Regions from separate parts of the Homo sapiens genome. Here all the other regions are linked to region 5. Evidence: promoter capture Hi-C in human tissues and cell types (Jung and others, 2019). All regions are on one chromosome and are shown on one strand. Each heading gives the region's core, a stretch centred on a gene start or on the middle of the fragment in contact. The rest is flanking DNA. Distances are from core to core; before and after follow the strand shown. Region 1 overlaps ASXL1 (ASXL transcriptional regulator 1). Region 2 overlaps XKR7 (XK related 7). Region 3 overlaps ASXL1 (ASXL transcriptional regulator 1). Region 4 has its middle 12 kb from the start of ASXL1. Region 5 holds the start of PLAGL2 (PLAG1 like zinc finger 2).

Region 1 (2,891 bases), core at 227-2,726, 170 kb after region 5:
GGTGTGAGCCACGGTGCCCGGCCCCTTATTCTTTTTGAAGGCTGTTTTAAGAATTCCAGATTTCCAGCCATGAATGTGTGATTACTAACTAGTCTCTTGTTATATGCCTCATCAACACCACACTTCTCCCAGAAGTTGTGCAGGCATTTAGTTTATTGTTACTCAGGAATGGATGAGAAAGGATATCAAAGATCTGAACCAGCTGATTACCATCTTGGTCACTTGAGAACTCAGGTCTGTCCAATAAACACCCTAATCCAAGGTGGTGTTAAATACATATATATATATTTTTACTTTACGTTTATTTATTTTGAAAAATTTCAAACCTATAGAAAAATTGAGGCAGTACCATAGTCTTAGTCCATTTTCCATTACTTAGAATATCCAAAAGTGAGTAATTTATAAAGAAAATTAATTTATTTCTTACAGCTATGGAGGCCAAGGTCGAGGGGACATATCTGGTCAGCGTTTTGCCATGTTGGTCAGGCTGGTCTCGAACTCCTGACCTCAAGGCCTGCCTTGGCCTCCCAAAGTGCTGGGATTACAGGCATAAGCCACCGTGCCCAGCCACCTCTGAGCACTTTAGATAGTATGTCTTAAGAACAAAGACATAGCCCGGCGCAGTGGCTCACGCCTGTAATCCCAGCAGTTTGGGAGGCTGAGTCGGGCGGATCACCTTAGGTCAGGAGTTCGCGGCAAAACCCCGTTACTACTAAAAATACAAAAAATTAGCTGGGTGTGGTGGCGTGCACCTGTAATCCCAGCTACTCGGGAGGCTGAGGCTGGAGAATCACTTGAACCCAGGAGGCAGAGGCTGCAGTGAGCCGAGATGGCACCACTGCACTGTAGCCTGGGTGACAGAGCAAGACTTGGTCTCAAAAAAAAAAAAGAAAAAAAGAACAAAGACATTTTCCTATATAACCACAATGCCGTTATCACACTCAAGAAACTTAACATTGATATGATTGTGTATAATACATAGTCCATATTCAAATTTTTCTCTCATTTCAAAATTATTCTTTGTGGCCTAAAATCCTGTATCCAATCATGATATTTTTGAACAATCCAGACTAGTTGTTGTATAGAAGTAAGTAGTTTGTTTTTTTTGTTTTGTTTTGTTTTGTTTTTTGAGACAGGGCCTGGCTCCGTTGCCCAGGCTGGAGTGCAGTGGCATGATCACGGCTTACTGCAACCTCTGCCTCCTGTGCTCAAGCAATCTTGTGCCTCAGCTTCCTAAATAACTGGAATTAGAGGTGCGTGACACCACGCCTAGCTAATTTTTGTATTTTTAATAGAGATGGGGTTTTGTCATGTTGCCCAGGCTGGTCTTGAACTCCTGGACTCGAAGCAATCCTCCCACCTCAGCCTCCCAAAGTGCTGGGATTTATAGGTGTGAGCCACCAGGCCTGGCAGTTAAGTACATTTTTTAAGGACTAATAAAAATGTAGAAATCTTCGTTATTTCCGGAATCCTTTATGTTTTACTGCCAGTACTAATGTAGTAATGCCAGACAGTAGTCATGTCTACTGTTCCAGGTTGTCCAAAGGATTCAGCAGCAAAGGATGAAAGTGGTGGGAAGTTTTGCATAGTGGTCGACCAAGGGCTAGTTTGGTGAGTGTCTTGCCTATGATAATGGACAGGAAGACACCAGTTATTTTATTTTATTTTTATTTTATTTTATTTTATTTTAATTTTATTTTGTGTTGTGTTGTGTTATCTTTGAGATGGAGTCTCACTGTATCACCCAGGCTGGAGTGCAGTGGCGCAATCTCGGCTCACTGTAACCTCTGCCTCCCGGGTTGAAGTGATCCTCCTGCCTCAGCCTCTTGAGTAGCTGGGATTATATGCGTGAGCCACCACACCCGACTAATTTTTTGTATTTTTAGTAGAGACAGGGTTTTACCATGTTGGCCAGGCTGGTCTTGAACTCCTTACCTCAGGTGATCCACCCACCGCAGCCCCCCAAAGTGTTGGGATTACAGGCGTGAGCCACCACACCCAGCTGACACCAGTTATTTAACTCACATTTCTCTGTTTTCCTTTTAAAGGTAGTAGTGACACCTTTGAAATCTTTTGGCATTTTCTTTGCCTGTTCTCCCTTATGTGTTAAGGATAAGCTTACGTGCAGAATGGCTTGTTAAGTTTTTTCTCCTCCGTACTTGGAAATCTCATCTGGTGGGACATTAGGGTCAGAATTTTGTATATTATATATTATATATCTATCATGATATATATAATGTATTTTATATATTATATATTATATAAATATCATGATAGATATATAATATATAATTATATGTTATATATTTTATATTTATAAAATAAAAATAAAAAATTGCAATTATTTTCAAATAGTAAAACCACGTAGATAAAATATAATTCTGGCCAGGCACGTGGCTCATGCCTGTAATCCCAGCACTTTGGGAGGCTAAGGTGGGTGGATCACCTGAGGTCAGGTGATATAATATACAACAGATATAATATGTCTATTATATATTATATATAATGTTATATAGATATCTATATTATATATAATATATTAATAGATATATTAATATAATATATATTATATATTATACAGATATCTATAAATATATTATATATAATATATTATAGATATATCTATGTATATTATATCACCTGACGTCAGGTGATCCACCCACCTTAGCCTCGCAAAGTGCTGGGATTACAGGCGTGAGCCACGTGCCTGGCCAGAATTATATTTTATCTACGTGGTTTTACTATTTGAAAATAATTGCAATTTTTTATTTTATTTTTTGGTTCTGGAAACATTTGTGTGGACTTACCTATGATTGTCAGGTTTACTGATTTGCTGGAGATTTTTTGGGCATGACAAAGGGTTTCTTCTTTGATAAAAGTTTTTCTGGGTA
Region 2 (2,700 bases), core at 86-2,585, 240 kb before region 5:
ATCAATCCTGTAACAATTTAGAAAGAGTCTATGTGCTCTAATTTGTCCATCTTTCCCTTTGATCATATCTGTACTATTTCACTTAGACATGAAAGCCCTAATTTACAGTTCTATAACAATTATTTTATTAAACACTGACTTTGTGCCAAGCCTACTGGTTGCCTTTTTACCTGCTTTATTTCCTGTACCCCTTCTAATCATCCTGTCATGTGGTTAGCATTATAATTTCTACTTGACAGATGAGGGAATGGAGGCTCAGAGAGGGGGCATCCTTGTCCAAGGTCACACAGCTAGGAACTTGAAGAGCTGAGACTCCAGGCTCTCTGCCTTTAAAGCCTGAGTTCAATTTATCCACCTTGTAATTCTGCCACTAAAGTGTCCCTCAAGCTTAAAGAAGTATGAATCTGAGATTCCAAGATTCCAGTATGATAGAAAGTCAGGGCTTCTGTTGCACTGAGATAAGAATGTGAAAAGAGGGGCAGGGAGTTGAACTATGTGGGTGAGGACGGGAACAGTGTGTATTGTGGGGAAAAGGCTGGATTCGGGGGTGGTCTGGTCAGGAGGCTGACATCTTTATCCTAGTTTGTAACTATAGTTTGCTGGGTGACCTTGGGCAAGGCTCTTTCCATCTTTGGGTCTCGGTTTCCCTGTGTGTGAAATGAGATTCAATGTGATGACCTTAAGAGTTTCCCATTCCTGAAATTCTGACTCTGGGTCTATTGCCAAAGCAAAAGCCTCTGGGCCCTTGCCCCCAAAATCTTTGGATTCTAAAATGGCTAAGGGCCTGGATAAATGGAGGGAAAACCCAGAGAAGGTATAGAGAAGCTGCAGGGGCTGGCATTCCTAGAAATTAAGCAATGTTGGCCCAGCACATTTGCTTACCACGTGAGATGTTCCCACAGATGTTCTGAGTGGTGGGGCCTGGGGTAATGAAGAGGGAGATGTGTGATTGAGTCCTCCAGAATCACACCTGGGAGGCTAGGCAGTCACTCACCTCCTGATCCCATTTCCTCAATTCTGAATAAAATAATTATAATCATGAAGATATTTTTCAACCTCTTAGACTTGTAAAATCCTGAATTAAAAATTCAAATGCTTTGAGGACCCAGGCAGGTAACAGACCATAAGACCATAAGATACAAGGGGTGTCAGACAAGAGGACATTCAGGGGCAAGTAGTGTCCGAGGAAAAGGGAAGCTCCAGCTGATCATGCCATGAGAAATCGTGGACCCAGTCTTGATTTCTCAAGAGAAATGGGAAATTGGGATTTTTCCGTGAACTCTCCAAAATTTAACTACTAATTAAAATGTTTAAAAATAGTGTCAACCAAAGGAAACATATTTATTAGCCTGTCTTCTTTGTAACCTCTGGTTTAGCTCTTCAAATTGATAAGGTCTTTTCACACAGAAGATTTTATTACTAATTTAAACATAAAATGAAGCTCTGAAGAGAGAGAGGAGGAGAAAGCATACACAGACACTGCACACCTACCGTGTCCCCACAGGCCCTGTGTGAGTGTTTCAGGCATGTGATCTCATGTTACTCTGAAACCCTCCCCCCTGGTGACTATTGATATACCCATTTATCAGATAAGGAACCTTGTCCAAAAGTCACCCACTGAGGAAGTGAGGAAAGGTGATCAGTCCCAAACCTAGCTCTATCTTTTACACCACACACTGGCTACTTTGGGACATGCCAGAACAATATCTTTGTGCACAGAGAGATTGAACTCTGAGGGAACAGCAAACAGATCCTCTGGCGGGGCACGAAGCTGGCTGTGGCCTGGACACCAACCTGCAACTTCATCCCTCCCTTCCCTTTAAACTCTCTGAGCTGTTAAACTGCCCAGGGTTCTTAAGCTAATTAAAGTCCTAACCCTGTCCCCTCTGACCCTGTAGGCAGCAGAGCAGTAAGCCATGAATCCTGCTTTTCCTAATCTTGAGCTCAGTGGGCCCCAGCTTCACCCAGATAAGCATGGTTTGCTAAGCCAATTAGTGGGAGACGATCTGACATGGGATTCCTGCCAGGCTTTCGGGATCTGGGAACCCCAAAATGGGGAGAAAATTAGGCAATTGGGATTTAGGGGCCCTCCCTCTAATGCCCTCTCTATGCATAGGCCCAGACACTGCACTCTATGTCACCTAAGAAGCCCTGCATGACAGAGAAGTTCTGGAATGAGTTAGTGACCTATTGGAAGGAAATGTCAGGCTCTGGATTTCCCCTCTGGGAAACTACATTCTTGGCATAACGGTTGAGAGGGTTGAGAGCACGGACTCTAGATTCAAGTGTCCTCAGTTTAAATCCAGACTTTACTACTTCTTATATGTGACCTTGACAAGGCAAATAATCTCTCATCCGTTGTAAACTAGGGACCAAAATTGTACCCACCCGCCTCTTAGGTTGTTTCAAGGTTTAATGAGATAATGTGTAAGGGTTCAGCAAAGGGCTCATTCCATCGTTAAATGCTCAGAAACTGCTGGCAATGATTAGTGCATTAGCTTGGGCTTTGCTCCCTGTGGAACAAAGCTTTGTTCACGGAGCACATGGCAGGACAGCAAGGGGGTCCTGAAGTCCCTTGAAGCCATAATGACATGGCAGTCATTCATTTAATCTGCAGTCATTCATTCAGCAGACATTTATTAAGCACCTGCTGTATACCAGGCACTGTTCTAAGTGCTGGGAATAGAGTGGTGAACAAGA
Region 3 (2,838 bases), core at 278-2,777, 190 kb after region 5:
TGGTGTTTTTTTCGTTTTTGTTTTTTTAAGATGGACTGTCACTCTGTCGTCTAGGCTGGAGTGCAGTGGTGCAATCTCAACTCACTGTAACCTTTGCCTCCTGGGTTCAAGCAGTTTTCCTGTCTCAGCCTCCCAAGTAGCTGGGATTACAGGTGCGTGCCACCACACCTGGCTATTTTTTTTTTTTTTTTTTTGGTTTGAGACAGAGTCTCGCACTGTCACCTGGGCTGGAGTGCAGTGGCGCGATCTCGGCTCACTGCAATCTCCGCCTCCTGGGTTCAAGCGATACTCCTGCCTCAGCCTCCCAAGTAGCTGGTATTACAGGCGCCCATCACCACACCCAGCTAATGTTTTGTATTTTTAGTAGAGACAGGGTTTCACTATATTGGCCAGGCTGGTCTCAAATTCCTGACCTTGTGATCTGCCCGCCTTGGCCTCCCAAAGTGCTGGGATTACAGGCGTGAGCCACCGTGCCTGGCCTAATTTTTGTATTTTTAGTAGAGATGGGCTTTTGCCATGTTGGCCAAGCAGGTCTCGAATTCCTGACCTCAAGTGATCCCTGCCCTTGGCCTCCCAAAGTGCTGGCATTACAGGAGTGAGCTACGCCATGCCTGGCCTGGATTGAGGATTTTTTAGTGGTTCATTTTTAAGTCCTTTCTTGGCTCATTAGTACTTTGTTATTTTAGTGGCTGCTTTAGTGTTTATTGAGTTCAGCTTGTGAAACTCAGTCTTTAATATTATACCACTTCACCTATATTACAAGAACCTTATAGCAGTACACTTCATTTTCCCTTCAGACTTTGTGCTATGTTTGTCATACACTTCACTTTTACATATGTTGTAAACTCCACAATACATTATTATTTTTCATTTAAGTAGTCAATTTTTTTAAAACAATTTTTTTTTTTTTGAGACGGAGTCTCACTCGGTTGCCCAGGCTACAGTGCAGTGGTGCAATCTTGGCTTACTGCAGCCTCTGCCTCCTGGGTTCAAGTGATTCTTATGCCTCAGCCTCCTGAGTAGCTGGGATTACAGGTGCGCCCCATCATGCCTGGCTGATTTTTGTATTATTAGTAGAGATGGGGTTTTGCCACGTTGGCCCAGCAGGTCTCGAACTCCTGAGCTCCAGTGATCCGCCTGTCTTGGCCTCCCAAAGTGCTGGGATTACAGGCATGAGCCACCATGCCTGGCCTAAAAAGATTTTAAAAGTAAGAAAAAATGTCTTTTACTTTATATGTTTTCCATTTCTGGTGTTCTTTATTGCCTATGAGCGGTTCCAGATTCTCATCTGCCAGATTTTCTTCAGTTTTTTCTCGTCAGTTCAGATTTTCTTTCTGCCAGAGGACTTCCTTTAATGTGTTTCTTGTAGTGTAGGTCTGCTGGTGATATCTTTAAGCTTTGGTGTGTTTGAAAAAGTACTTCCTCTTGTTTTTAGAAAGATATATTCCTTTGATACAGAATTCTAGGTTGACAGGTTTTTTTCATTGTGTACTTTAAAGATGTTGCTCCACTGTCTCTAGCTTGCATTATTTCTCCTGTAAAATCTGTTGTTATTTTAATCTTTGTTCTTCAGCGAGCAAATTTATCTTTTTTGCCTTTTTTGGTTAATTTTTAAGATTTTCTTTTTATCACTGCTTTTTCAGCAATGTGTTTATTATATACTTTGTTGTAGTTTGCGTCATATTTCTTGTGTTTGAATTCTCTTGAGCTTCATGGATGAAATTTACGTATTCAGCTACTATTTCTTGAAATATTTTTCTTTTGTACTTCCCCACCGCATCTGGAGTCTGTAATTACATGTATATTTGGCTGCTTGAAGTAGTCATACAACTCACTGATGCACTGTTATGTTTTTTAGTCATTTGATTCTCTTTGTTTTGGGTAGTTTCTACTGATCTTCATTTCACTAGTCTTTATCTTTCCCATGTTAAATCTGTTACTCTTATCCAGAATTATACCTTTTATCCTTAAAAATTCAGTTTTTTTCTTTTTTTTGAGACGGAGTCTCATTCTGTCACCCAGGCTGAAGTGCAGTGGCATGATCTTGGCTCGCTGCAACCTCCGCTTCCCAGGTTCAAGCGATTATCCTGCCTCAGCCTCCCAAGTAGCTGTGATTACAGGCATGCATCACCATGTCTGGCTAGTTTTTGTATTTTTAGTAGAGACAGAGCTTCACCATGTTTGCCAGGCTGGTCTCAAACCCCTGACTTCAGGTGATCCACCTGCCTCAGCCTCCTAGAGTGCTGGGATTACAGGAATGAGCGACCACACCTGGTTTGTTTCTTAAAAAACATCTTATATTTCTCTGCTTAACGTGCTCAATGTTGAACATGTGAAATATAATAACTTTTCATAATCTCTTCTGATTCTGTCTCTATATCATCTTTGGGTCTGTTTTTATGTATTCTATTTTTCTTGTCATTATGGGTCAGATTTCCCAGTTCTTTGCAATCCTAATAAATTCTGTTTAGATGAAAGACATTGTGAATTTCACTTTGGGTTGTGGATATTTTTGTATTCATGTTGGTATTTTTGAGATTTGTTCTGGAGTGCAGATGAGTTAGCTGGAAACTAATTCTTTTGAGGCTTGCTTTTTAGCTTTGTTAGGTGGGGCGTATCCTTTCTGTGTTTATTTTTGTAAGGGTATACAGATATACATGTTTTCTTATTTCCCTCTTTATTTATTCTTATTTAATCTGTAACAATCTTTTTCCTTATATTCGTAACATTCTTAGTTAGGGAGTAATTACCTCTTCCCTAACTGTTGCATTAGCTTCTTAATTGGCACTCTGGTTCCCAGACTTTTTCTGTCTCTAATGCAGTGTACAGACTACTGTC
Region 4 (2,700 bases), core at 23-2,522, 140 kb after region 5:
TATTTGTAAAGCACCTAGTGCCTGGCATGTGGTGAGCTCTCTAGAAGTAGTAGCAGTTAGGGTTATTATGTGAAAGCATTTTGTAAAGCTGGATAGCACAGCAGAGAGGTAGGTCTGAAGGTGACTGTGCCATGAGCATGTGGCCTTCATTGAAGCCTTACCTCATCTCTGCTCAATTGAATTTCATTCAGCCTCCAACGCCCCCATCTTGTTGCCTGGGTGAAATCTTTGTCTCAGGGTGTAGAGCTTTCTCCTTTCCTCTTTTCATCCAGCATTTACTGAATGCCACTTTGGGCTGAGCATCCTGCTGGGCGCTGGGGCTATTGAGCTGCAAAACCCAGAAGGAGCATGGTCAGGAGCCTGCAGGAGGGAGCCCAGGGCATTCTGGGAGCCTCGTGGCCATGCACATTAGAGCTAGACTGTGAAGGAACCTAGCTGCTGAGTTTTGCTTTTATTCTGCCAGGGGAGACTCTGAAGGCTTCTGAGCTGGGTGATAAAGTTCGTGGATAAACTAAGAGTTCACAACATTCTTGTTTAAGTACTGCATGGTAAAAGTAAATATTTGCATTATGGTTAAATCCATAATCTATATTTAAGCACTGCAGTCAAACCAAAAAGCTACAAGATGGAGATGTAAAGGCATGTAGAGGAGCACAGACCTCAGGGCAAATAACGTCTCCAATCGAAGACAGTACACTACTAAATTAGCAGGAAATGTAGCCAAATGGAGCAGGGAGGTTTTGAAGCCGGATAAACCAGGGTTGGCACTTACTATCTGTTTTGAGCTATTGCACGTCTGGGGGAGGGTTAATACCCTGCAGGGTTGCTGAAGGGATTAAAGAAATATCCATCAAGTGCCTGGCACTTAATAGGCACACAATATGAGGCATATATTATTAGATATTAATAGCAATATTAAGATAAGTAGTGGAGCATCATGGAAAGAGTTCTTGTGTCAGCCAGCCCTGTGTTCAAATTCTGATACATCCAGAGCAAGCTTCTTAACCTTTCTGAGCCTTTAGTTGTCTCCTCACCTGCAAAATAAACAAGTAAGACCTCCTATGTAGGGTTGATGTAGGGAATAAATAAGAATATAGACTTTGTAGGCTATGTAATAGATGTTCAGTTAAGTGCTATTTTAAAACCAAAATGCAGTGAGCTCTATTGAAATTTTTTGTTTGTTTGTTTATTTTTGAGACAGGGTCTTGCCCTGTTTCACAGGCTGAAGTGTGGTGGCACCATCTTAGTTCAGTGCAACATCCACCTCCCTGGTTCAAGTGATCCTTCCACCTGGGCCTCCCAAGTAGCCGGGAGTACAGGCGTGCACCACCATGCCCGGCTAATTTTTTGTATTTTGTGTAGAAACATGGTTTTGCAGGTGGGGCGCGGTGGCTCACGCCTGTAATCCCAGCACTTTGGGAGGCTGAGGGGAGTGGATCACAAGGTCAGGAGTTTGAGACCAGCCTGGCCAACAGGGTGAAACTCTGTCTCTACTAGAAATACAAAAATTAGCCGAGCATGGTGGCGCATGCCTGTAATCCCAGCTGCTTGGGAGGCTAAGGCAGGAGAATTGCTTGAACCTGGGAGGCAGAGGTTGCAGTGAGCTGAGATCACGTCACTGCACTCCAGCCTGGGTGACAGAGCAAGACTGTCTCGGGAAAAAAAAAAGAAACATGGTTTTGCCATGTTGCCTAGGCTGGTACTGAATATTTTGATTATAAAAGTTACATCTTCTAATGGTAAAAAATTCAAACAATACAAAAACATTTTAAGAAAGTAATTACAAATCACTGGAAACTCCGTTACCCAGAGCCAATGATTATCTTTTGGATACCTCTTTGTGCAAACTCTTTTAGTTTGACCATCATGGTATATGTAAATTTATTCTACTCACCTGTCCTATTTTCACTCAATGATATGTTGTGGACATATATCCAGTTAATTTAAATTTATATTATTGTTTTAAATCAGTACCTTGCATTATATTATATTATATTGTACCAGAATTTATTTAACACTATTGATGGTCATTGAAGCTACTTCCAGATTTTTACCATTTTATACAATGCTATATTAAGCAACCTTGGACAAAGATCACTGTTCGCTTGTTTAATTTCCTCCTGGAATAAATCACTGTACATGAATTACCAAATCAAAAGGTTTTCCCATTATAATTTTATTAATTTTTTTTTTTTTTTTTTTGAGATGGAGTTTTGCTCTTGTTGCCCAGGCTGGAGTGCAATACAGTGATCTTGGCTCACCGCAACTTCCGCCTCCCGTGTTCAAGTGATTCTCCTGCCTCAGCTTCCCAAGTAGCTGGGATTACAGGCATGCGCCACCACACCCAGCTAATTTTGTACTTTTAGTAGAGACGGGGTTTCTCCATGTTGGTCAGGCTGGTCTACCTCAGGTGATCCACCCGCCTCAGCCTCCCAAAGTGCTAGGATCACAGGCGTGAGCCACCATGGCCGGCTAAAATCTTTTAAATTGTTATTTTTTATAAAGAGACAGGGTCTCACTGTGTTGCCCAGGATGGTCTTGAACTCCTGGGCTCAAGCAGTCCTCTCACCTCAGCCTCCCAAAGTGCTGAGATTACAGGCGTGAGCCACCACTGTTGGCCTATAATTTTCTTGTGTTAGCCAGACTTGTGTTCAAATCCTGATACACCCAGAGCAAGTATGATTTTGTTACATATTGCTA
Region 5 (2,700 bases), core at 15-2,514:
ACAAATGGCTGCAACTCATCACAACCCCATTTTCATGGGGAGAAAACGTGATTCGACACCCCCGCTCCCAATCTGGTGGCCTCACCTTAGGAGAGAAAGGTTAGAAACCCAAGACCAGACTCTACACACAGTCCCATGGCTGACAGGTGGAAAAACACACAAGCCAGGAGACAGGCTAAGCTTGCAGGTGAAAGCACCGATTCCCCCACACAGGTGTCCCCATATCCTCCACCTAACAGGCCCCTTTCTCCCCACCAAGGTGGGCCACAGCCTGGTCCCAGGCCAACTTTTAGATCACCCCACTGTGGTGTGGGAAAGGTTCAATTCCCCGAGCCTGGGAGAGATGGGAGTGGATGAGGGCTGGAGAAGCAAAGGAAATCCAGGGAGAAGTCTGGAGGGAGTCTCTGGGATGGGAAGGAAGAGCGAGGATGGGAAGGAATCATGAGCAACTTTCCTGGGTCTCTAAGGGATCCCCACAAGAATGAAATGGGGGATTATAAGGGCTGGAAGGCTGGGGGGATGGGGATAGTCAGAAGTGTATCCTCTGAATTTCAAGAGGGTCTCAAAATGGGTAACGGGATGGAAGATGTCGAAAGCCTGGGAGTATGGCCACTGAGGAGGGAACTACAGGTGGGGCTTATTCGACTTCTCCAGACCCAGATATTTGAGGGAAGCCTCAAAGGGAGTTATGTAAGTCTGGAAAATGAAACAGGGTACAGAGCGGGCTATCTGGAGCAGGAAAGGGGGTTATGTGGGTCTGGGTAGGCGTGTCGGAGGGAGGGAGCAGGTGCAGCTTATCTGCGTCCCCCAGACCCGGGTCCCTGGTAAGGTCAGCAGCGCCTTATCTGGGTCTCCAGGGAGCCTAGGGGTCGGGAATGGGGGACCCTCAGGACTGCGTCTCCAGGTCTCGGAAGGGAGGGGACCGGTGGCTTCCTCGGGTCCCCCAGACACAGGTATGGGGTCCAGGGAGAGTTTTCGTCACCCCAGGGCCTATCTGGGGCCGGGTTGGCGCAGACCGGGCCCCGGGTCGGGGGTGTGGGCGACCGCGCTGAGGGGCCCGAGATGAGGCGCGCCGCCGCTCCGGGTACAGGGCGCGCGGACGCAGCGAGACGGCCTCCCGCCCCTCTCCCCGCCGTCCCCTGGGGCCCTCGCCGGCACTCACCGCGCTCGGGGCCCCACGCTGCGGGCCGGGCCGCGCTCGGGCTCCGCCAGGCCCCCTCAGGCCCCGGTAGTGGCGGCGGTCGGGCCATTGTGCGGTGCATTGTGGGAGCCGCGCGAGCGGGCGCTCGGGTCGTGGAGGGGGCGGTGCCGCGGGATCTCTATGGTCCCGCCCGCCCGCGGGCTAGAGCGGCCGGGGCGGTGCGCGGGCGGCGCGCAGGGACCGCTGGGAGCGGGGCGGGCGCTCGCGTCCCTCCTTCCCTCCCCGACTGTGCGCCGCGGCTGGCTCGGGTTCCCGGGCCGACATGGGCGCCGCCGCGTGGGCACGGCCGCTGAGCGTGTCTTTCCTGCTGCTGCTTCTGCCGCTCCCGGGGATGCCTGCGGGCTCCTGGGACCCGGCCGGTTACCTGCTCTACTGCCCCTGCATGGGTAAGGCCTCCCAAGCCCTCTGCTCAGATGGAGAAACTGAGGCCGGGAGAGGAAAAGCCACTCCTCAGATGCGCCCAGAGACACCTTCACAGGTCCAGGAGAGAACCTCAGAGCGGGACGGGGCATGCTCTTCTCCTCTCTGCCTTAGTTGCAAGGGCACAGAGGGGCCAACGTGTCCAACTTTCCATTTGACAGATGAGAAAACTGAGGCTGGGAGAGGTTACGTGACTTGCTTGAGGTCTAAGCCAGTCCAGGGTCCAGTAAATGGAGTTAGTGGGGCAGGACTTGATGTCACTGACCCACGCTGGCTCCTGGTGATTTTTCATTGATTCAGCAAATATTTATGGGGCACCTATTCTGTGCCGGGCCCTGTTCTCTGTACTGGGAATACCGCAGTGAATAAGATAAACTCCGTGTCCTTGTAGAGCCTTCATTTTAGTTGGGGAAGACAAACAATTGAGAATAAGTAGGCCAGGCGCGGTGGCTCACTTCTGTAATCCCACCACTTTGAGAGACCGAGGCAGGATCACTTGAAGCCAGGAGCTCGAGATCAGCCTAGGCAACATAGTGAAAATCCAATCTCAAAAAAAAAAAAAAAAAAAAAAAGCAGAGCGTGGTATCGTGTGCTTGTAGTCCCTTGGGAGTTATCTGGGCGGCTACTTGGGAGGCTGAGGTGGGAGGATCTCTTGAGCCGAGGAATTCGAGGCTGCAGTGAGCTCTGATCGTGCCACCGCACTGCCAGCCTGGGTGACAGAGTGAGACCCTGTCTCGAAACAAGCAAACCCAAAAAGGGGTAAACATAAAACAATAAATACATAGTTTCATAGAGGATGATGAATACTAAGGGAAAATAAAGAGAGCAGGGTAGGGGAGAATCTAAAGACCATGCCAGGTGCACAGTTGAAATGGGTATGGTGGATCATCATTGTGGAAGTGGATGATCTTAAGGCCCCCAGTGGCTTCCAGACTCCTGACCATGACTTTCAGGGCCCTGAATGATGTGGCCTCCACTGGCCATCTCCACAACTCCCTTCTCTGCTGATCCTCCAGCTGCAGCCACACTTAACTCCTTTGCGTTCCTCACACATGCTCAGGTCTTCCAGTCTGCACTGC

What was found. Contacts are between HindIII fragments. The study calls those that stand out against the background at their distance.
Region 1: a contact is called between a fragment that was not itself captured here and the fragment with the promoter of PLAGL2 in region 5, in 1 of the 25 tissues and cell types used here (mesenchymal stem cells).
Region 2: a fragment that was not itself captured here is called in contact with the fragment with the promoter of PLAGL2 in region 5 in 3 of the 25 tissues and cell types used here (H1 embryonic stem cells, IMR-90 fibroblasts and lymphoblastoid cells).
Region 3: a contact is called between a fragment that was not itself captured here and the fragment with the promoter of PLAGL2 in region 5, in 1 of the 25 tissues and cell types used here (spleen).
Region 4: a contact is called between a fragment that was not itself captured here and the fragment with the promoter of PLAGL2 in region 5, in 3 of the 25 tissues and cell types used here (liver, mesenchymal stem cells and thymus).

The regions. Positions count from the first base shown.
Region 1 is chr20:32,374,572-32,377,462 of GRCh38, forward strand. The region is part of intron 4 of ASXL1 (ASXL transcriptional regulator 1); the gene reads left to right. Among named protein-coding and RNA genes, the nearest start is that of ASXL1, 18 kb to the left of the region's middle. The HindIII fragment of the contact is 3,163 bases long and covers 1-2,891 here.
Region 2 is chr20:31,970,678-31,973,377 of GRCh38, forward strand. All of the region lies in intron 1 of XKR7 (XK related 7), which reads left to right. Among named protein-coding and RNA genes, the nearest start is that of XKR7, 3.9 kb to the left of the region's middle. RefSeq lists enhancers at 1,399-1,900, 1,901-2,400 and a silencer at 1,489-1,783. The HindIII fragment of the contact is 4,685 bases long and covers 1-2,700 here.
Region 3 is chr20:32,393,822-32,396,659 of GRCh38, forward strand. The region is part of intron 4 of ASXL1 (ASXL transcriptional regulator 1); the gene reads left to right. Among named protein-coding and RNA genes, the nearest start is that of ASXL1, 37 kb to the left of the region's middle. The HindIII fragment of the contact is 9,568 bases long and covers 1-2,838 here.
Region 4 is chr20:32,344,747-32,347,446 of GRCh38, forward strand. No RefSeq gene overlaps it. Among named protein-coding and RNA genes, the nearest start is that of ASXL1, 12 kb to the right of the region's middle. The HindIII fragment of the contact is 4,958 bases long and covers 1-2,700 here.
Region 5 is chr20:32,206,479-32,209,178 of GRCh38, forward strand. It overlaps PLAGL2 (PLAG1 like zinc finger 2), which reads right to left and starts at 1,265. Exons shown (of 3, transcript NM_002657.3): 1 at 1,163-1,265. It overlaps POFUT1 (protein O-fucosyltransferase 1), which reads left to right and starts at 1,402. Exons shown (of 7, transcript NM_015352.2): 1 at 1,402-1,587. The coding sequence starts at 1,464. RefSeq lists a silencer at 1,052-1,471 and enhancers at 1,236-2,149, 1,612-1,741. The HindIII fragment of the contact is 8,119 bases long and covers 1-2,700 here.